2 separate regions of the Homo sapiens genome follow, and region 1 is linked to region 2. Evidence: promoter capture Hi-C in human tissues and cell types (Jung and others, 2019). All regions are on one chromosome and are shown on one strand. Each heading gives the region's core, a stretch centred on a gene start or on the middle of the fragment in contact. The rest is flanking DNA. Distances are from core to core; before and after follow the strand shown.

The links. Contacts are between HindIII fragments. The study calls those that stand out against the background at their distance.
Region 1: a contact is called between a fragment that was not itself captured here and the fragment with the promoter of EGR3 in region 2, in 2 of the 25 tissues and cell types used here (heart left ventricle and liver).

Annotation. Positions count from the first base shown.
Region 1 is chr8:22,931,371-22,934,975 of GRCh38, forward strand. It overlaps a transcript of PEBP4 not described here. Among named protein-coding and RNA genes, the nearest start is that of PEBP4, 5.3 kb to the left of the region's middle. The HindIII fragment of the contact is 4,297 bases long and covers 1-3,407 here.
Region 2 is chr8:22,691,873-22,695,332 of GRCh38, forward strand. It overlaps EGR3 (early growth response 3), which reads right to left and starts at 1,608. Exons shown (of 2, transcript NM_004430.3): 1 at 919-1,608. The coding sequence starts at 1,072. LOC105379321 (a long non-coding RNA gene) reads left to right here and starts at 2,985. Exons shown (of 3, transcript XR_001745832.2): 1 at 2,985-3,342. RefSeq lists silencers at 32-227, 638-707, 1,570-1,689, 1,634-1,797, 2,680-2,899 and 1 more and enhancers at 1,842-2,487, 2,320-2,429, 2,470-2,569. The HindIII fragment of the contact is 10,174 bases long and covers 1-3,460 here.

The sequences.
Region 1 (3,605 bases), core at 9-2,508, 240 kb after region 2:
TTATTAGCAGTAACACCCCATTCCTCCCTACCCCCAGCCCCTGACAACCCTAATCTATTTTCCGTCTCTATGAATTTGCCTATTTTGGATGCCTCTACCAACATTTTCCCCTCCCTCTTTTCCAGCCTCCCTTCCCATGACCACTTTCTTGGACATTTTCATCACTACAAATTGCTCCATCCCTAAAATATTAAATTCAAGCAGTTTTTTTTGTTTGTTTTTGTTTTTGTTTTTAGGTGGAGTCTCGCTGTCACCGGGGCTGGAATGCAGTGGCATGATCTCAGCTCACTGCTGCCTCCGCCTCCTAGGTTCAAGTGATTCTCCTGCCTCAGCCTTCCAAGTAGCTGGGATTACAGGCACGCACCACTATGCCCAGCTAATTTCAAGCAGCTCTTCTGATCACCATCTCTTCTCCTTCCTCTACCCTCTTGTTACTTCTCTGCACTTAGTCTTTCATTTGATTCTAAACTCTGGTCCCTCGACCACTCTCCTTTTTCCTTACCTATTCTGACTACCTTCCCTCTGGTACCTGGGTCTTACAAACCTTTGTACTATTCACTTGCTAACATCTTCAATTTCTTCGCCCTTATCTTCGCATTGCAGCTGTTGGATGCAACTTCAAATTTGGAACAGTCCAGTAATCTGGCTACTCCGTCATGCAATCCTGCTCCCACTCTACTCTCAGTATCCTGTGCCTTCTACAGAGCCCAGGGTGGGGCCCAGGAGCCATGGGGGAAAACACTGTGCTAAGTGAAAGCAGCCAGTCGCAAAAGAGGACATATTGTATGATTCCATTTATATGAAATGTCCAGAATAGGCAAATACACAGGGACAGAAAGTAGACTAGTGGTTGCTAAGGCTGGAGGTGGAGGTGGGATAAGACGTGAATGAGAGGTATGGGGATGATAGCTAAAGGGTATGAGGTTTCTTTTAAAGGTGATGAAAATGTTCTGAAATTGCCTATGTGATGGTTGCACATATCTATACATATACTAAAAACCACTGAATTATACACTTCAAAATTTATGAATTGTGAGATAAGTGGAGCATATAGCAATAAAGCTGTTTAAAAAAAGTCATCCTGGGGATGTCAGCAAAATGGATGATTAGGAAGCTCCAAGCTCTTGTTCCCTCATGGAAAGCTAAACACACATATACACACACACACACACCCCCAGAGAGACAGAGAATTGGATGAACTAACTTTATAGAAGCTCTGGAAAACAGCCAAAGGTTAGAGCAGCCAAGTAAATGCCTAATCAAGGAAAGCCTCCTTAACTGCACCCTGGGTGAGAGAAGGAGACCCTGTCTCAAAAAATTTTTAAAAGCCTCCTTCAAAATAATAGGAATTTTTCCAGACACGGTGGCTCATGCCTGTAATCCCAGTACTTTGGGAAGCTGAGATGGGCAGATCATCTGAGGTCAGGAGTTCAAGACCAGCCTGTCCAACATGGTGAAACCCCATCTCTACTAAAAATACAAAAATTAGCCAGGCATGGTGACAGGCACCTGTAATCCCAGCTATTTGGGAGGCTAAGGCAGAAGAATCACTTGAACCCAGGAGGCGGAGATTGCAGTGAGCCAAGATCGTACTACTGCACTCTAGCCTGGGCAACAGAGCAAGACTCCGTCTCCAAAAAAAAAAAAAAAGGTTGGAAATTTCATTTTCTTTCTACCTTGTTCCACCTCCACTGCCAGCAGTATTGGTCTGGAGGAGATAGTAGCTCAAGCCCCAGCTCTTCCTTAAACTCAAAGAAGGAGAGCCAGACCCATCATGTGCAATGCTCTAATCTGTCTGGGGTCCACTTGCAGGAGTAGTCTCTGCTTTGCCTAAGGGAAAAGGGGAAGCATTGCTTATGAAACCAGCAGACCGACTACAGACCTTCAGACACTGAAGACAAAGATTACAGTTGAGACATACAACAGACCATCTAAAGCCCCAAGAAGCTCAAGGAATTTCAAGTAAAATAAACTCAAAGAGACCTACGCTGAGACATATTAGAATCAAACTGTTGGAAGCCAAAGACAAAGAGAGAATTTTGAAAGCAATAAGAGAGAAGACTCATCATGTATAGGGATCCTCAATAAAATTATCAGCCAATTTATCAGCAGAAACTTTGAAGCCCAGGGGGCATTGGGATGATATAAAGTACTGAAAGAAGAAAAGTTGTCAATTAAGAATTCTATGTCCAGCAAAAGTATCTTCCAAAATATTAGTAAGAGAGAAATTAAGAAAGTCCCAGATAAACAAAAGCTTAGGGAGTTGATTACCACCAGCACTGCCCTGCAAGAAATGCTGAAAGTAGATCTTCAGGTTGAAATGAAAAGATGACAGTAAGCTGAAACTAGGTGAAGAAATATATCAAGATCTTTGTTTGAGGTAAACACACAGCAAATTAAAAAGCCAGTATTGTTGGAATTTTGGTTTGTAATTCCACTTTTAAATACAGGATGTCTTAGTCCATTTAGTGCTGTTATAAATGAATACCTGAGGCTGGATAATTGATAAAGAGGTTTATTTGGCTCACAATTCTGCTGGCCGGAAGACTGGGCATCTGGTAAAAGCCTCAGCCTTTTCCCACTCATTTTAGAAGGGAAAGGGAAGCTGGAGTGTGCAGAAATCACACAGTGAAATAGAAAGCAGGAATGAGAAATGGGAGGTGCCAGGCTCTTTTTAACAACCAGTTCTCATGGAACTAATAAAGTGAGAATGCACTCCCCTGGAACTGCATTCTATTCATGAAAGGTCTGCCCCCAAGATGCAAACACCACCCATTGGGCCCCACCTCCAATATTGGGGATCAAATTTCAACATGAGTTTTGCGGGGCACAAATATCTAAATTATAGCACAGGATTTAAAGACAATGAATAAAATAATTATAAATCTTTGTTAGTGGGTATATAATAATGTAAACTCTAACATCGGTAACACAAAATGGGGGGCACGGAGCTGTATAAGTAAAATGTTTGTATGCAATTGAAGTTAAGTTAGTATCAATTCAAATTAGATCATTATAACTTTAGGATGTTATATGTAATTCCCATGGTAACCACAAAATGTATTTATAGAATATACACAAAAGGAAATGAGAAGTGAATAAAACATGTCACTACAAAAAAAATCAACTAAATGTAAAGAAAGGTAGAAATGGAGGAAATGAGGAACACAAAAAGCTGAAAAGCAGCCAGATGCAGTGGCACATGCCTGTAGTTCCAGCTGCTTGGGAGGCTGAGGTGAGAGGATCACTTGAGCCTAGGAGTTTGAGGCCAGCCTGGGCCACATAGTGAGACCCCATCTCTTAAGAATGCAAGCAAGCAAGCAAGCAAGAAGAGCTAAAACATACAGAAAACAAATAACAAAATGGCAAAATAAGTCATTGAGTCATTGTCTATCAGTAAATGGATTTAAATTTAAATTTAATTGGGTTCAATGCCTCAGTCAAAAGTTATAAACTGGCAGATTAGATTTTTTAAAAATGATTCAATTATATACTGTCCACAATAGACTTGCTTTAGCTCTAAGGACACAAATAGATTGAAAGAGAAAGGATTTAAAAAGATGTACACAGTAACGAAAAGAGAACAGGGATGGCTATATTAATAT
Region 2 (3,460 bases), core at 358-2,857:
GGCCTCTTCCCTTGGCCCTGTCCGCTCCAGGACGCCGCGCCTTTCCCTCCCCGGCGATGCCCCCCACGCGCGCTGCTCCCGGGTCGCCGACCCAGAGCGCTCCGACGCTTTGTCCTCGGAGCGTAGAAGGGTGTCGCCCTCAAAGGGAGCTCTCCCTTCACCTACCCCGGCCCCAGCCTCCTCGGGCATGAAGGAGCTTTAGGCTCTTGCTGGAGGGGAAAATCCTAGCCCCAGCTAGGGAGGGTGGAGAGCGGCGGAAAACCGGCCGGTGTCTCCATGGCGGGAGAGGCCGCCCTTCCCCAGCTCCCCGGCCCCGGGATCGTTCCCCGTGGCAGGCCCTCGCCCCGCGGGTGAACCCCCTCCTTCTCCCCGCCGTCCCCACACCCCCACGGCTTTGCTGAACGCCCCGGAAAGGCAGCGTCGCAGTACCTCTCCCACCGCGGGGACTCCACGCCGCACATGGCTCCATCCCGGGTGGGAGGCTGAGGGAGTAAGGGGGGAGAGCGCGGGTGAAAAAGACGCCGGGCTCCTCCCGGGAAGAGGGCGACAGCACCACGCCTTGCGCGTAGCCCGGCGATCGGGCCCCCTGCGTGGTGAGGGAGAACCCCAGAGCCGCTCGCACCTACCTCCCTCCGGTCGGCGGCTGCCCCCACCCGGGAGAACCGAAGCCTCTACCGTGGCGTCGCCAACCTAGCCTTCTCGATCGAGGAGGGCGGGAGGAGTGGGTGGGAAAAGCAACTCGCCCCCCGCAAAATTCCCAGCGCGCCCCCATCTCTCCATCCATTTATCTATCCACCCATCCACCCATCCATCCATCCATCCATCCATCCATCCATCCATCCATCACCAGGTCGTCCCCTCCTCCTCTTCCTCTCCCCTTCCTTCCTCGCTGCCTCGCCGCCTCCCCGCCGCCCTTACCTGTAGCCATCTGATTGTAATGGACTACCGAGTCGCTGCTGCCGGAGAAGAGGTTGAGCGCGCTGGGGATCTCCTCGGGGTACAGATTGTCAGGCAGTTGGTTTAGCAAACTGCTCATGGTCACCGGCAGCTTCTCGGCGAGTTTGCCGGTCATAGCACTCCCGAGCTGCCGCCGCCGCCGCCACCGCCGCCACCGCCGCCGCTCGCTCCTAACGCAGCTTCCAGGCAAGCGGCATCCGAGAGGCGATCCGTGGTGCAGGGGAAAAGCATGCGAGAGGGAAAGTTCGGGGGGAGGGGGGAGGGAAGAAGGGAAGGGATGGGCCAGGAGAGGGGATCTTCTCTTTTTTGGGGGGCGGGAGAGGGCCCCAGGGGGTAATCCTCTTGGGTGCCTCAGCTGGTGCGGTATGAGGCTGGGTCGTGGGGGGGGTGGGGCGTGTGCGGGGGGTGGGGTGGGGGCTGGGCTGGGGGGGGATCTCGGCTCAAGGGGGTCGGACGCGGCCTCAGTATTGATCTCACAAACAGACACGCGCCCGCCGCCCCCCCGCCCCCCGATCTGCCACCGCCACCGCCACCGCCACCGCCGCCGCCGCCGCCGCCGCCGCCGCCGCCTCTGCCGCCGCTGCCGCCGCTGCTACCACCACCACCAGCCCCGCCGCTTCCTAGCAAGCTCACTGCTGCCCAAAAGCTCCCAGCCAGGGAACTCCACCAGCCTATTTATCTGAGCCCCGGGAAAGCTCCGTGACGTAGCTGCCCATATATGGACAGACAAAGCCCAGCCGAAGGGGCGCGACGTCACAATGGAAGCTCCTCACAATGGAACATTAGAAAGCAGGAAGCGGGCCGCAGCCAACGTGCGGCGCCCGCACCGCTCGCGGCTCTTGAAAAAAAGAGAAGGGGAGAAGAAACAAGAAGAATGCGAGAAGAGAGAGGAAAGAAGGATACAGCTGCATGCAAAGCGCAAAGCGCGTAGCGTGGAGTCGAAACACCAGTAACTCATTGTGTGTGTTTATTTGAGGTTTGCGTTAGGAGAGCGCATTGGGGAGAGGTGGGCGGTGGGGTGGGGTTGTTTGCAAGTGGTCTCCAACACCCCAGCAGTTAGAAAGAGAGTTGAAAACATCTGGCGAAATCCCTTTGCAGCCCGGGAACTGCTGGGGAACCCGGAAGGCGTGCGTTGCGCCCCTGCTACCTCAGCGGCTCCAGCGTTCGGGATCCTATCCGAGATTAAGAGAAAGGGAGTGCTTCCCTTTGTGGGGGGAAGGAGGGGTGCGCGCAGGGTTGGGGGGGTGTTTCAACTTGTCAGAATTCCTTGGTCCAATATCCCAAGAACTTTTGTGCCAACTTCACTCTGATTCGCCGCCCCTGCCCCTCCCTGGGCCCCTGACCCGGCGCTGACTCTAGGCTGAGCGCAGTGGCGAGGAGATTCGGAGCACCCCAGCAGTTGCGCCAAAGACAAGAGCCCCATCCATATGGGGTCGAGGATGTGCGGTTTTCGTGGTGAAGAGGAAAGAATGAAGTTGAAGGGATAGATAAACACGTGCACTGAATCCCCAGTAAATTCCCTAACGGTTCCAAGCAGCCTCTGTGGCCACAGGATGGCAGGAGGGCCCAGCAGGCCCGGGCGCAGTCGCTGTCTACTGCTGCCTGCGAAGGGCCCGCCAGAGTTCCAGAAGGAGGACGCCGAACCCACAGTCTCTGAGCCACTGGGGGCCTCCCCTAGTCTCTGCCCTCCCCCTCGCCTTCCACAGGGCTGTCCCCATTGCTGCCTGCCGGCGCTCCGCAGTCAAGGGCGGCCTGTGTGCCGACCCGGAGCGCTTTCACCTCCCGGAGCGGCAGCAGATCCCGGGGGCGGCTGCTGTGCTCCCTGGGGCCTGCTCCCGAGGCGCGCGCAGCCGGCCCGCGGGCGAGGGGGAGGAGAGGGCGGGAGCATGGGGGTGCGACCCCAAATCACATCGGCTTGGCGGGGGAGGATTCCCTCCTCGGTGGCCGCGTGGGCGCGGTGAATCCCTCGTCCCCTCCTGGGGAGTCGGGGTTGGGGGAACGTGCATTTCTCGGGGGGAGTGGGAGTGTTGACAAGGAAGAAGAGAGGATCCCCGGGCCTCACGCCGTGGGAGGGCCACGCGGGCCGGGGACGTGTGGGAGGAACTCCCGAGCTGCACGTTGTGGTGGAGGTGGATGACAACCTCGCTCCCCTCCCCTCCCCTCCACTCAGTGGAGGGCTGGGGACCGGAGGGCCCGGCCTCCCCCCATCTTCTCCAGTTCTTAGGAAAGGAGGGATTCCCGCCTCCCGCGAGCCCCCTCTCTCCACCCCCGCCGCCTCTCCCGCCAGGCTCCCCACTCCTATACTAGGGAGCCACAGCGCCCCCCGGGCTGTCCTCCGCCAGCGCGGCTCAGGGAGGGAGAGCGCTGCAGCGGTCCCGCGCTCCGGTCAGAATCAGGGCAGGCTGCGCCTCCCGCCCCCGGCTCCCTCCCTTAGGGGGGGCGCGCGGCCGGTCGGGGGGCGTGGGCGGCGGTGTGAGCCGGGCTAGGTGCGGGAGGGGCCCGG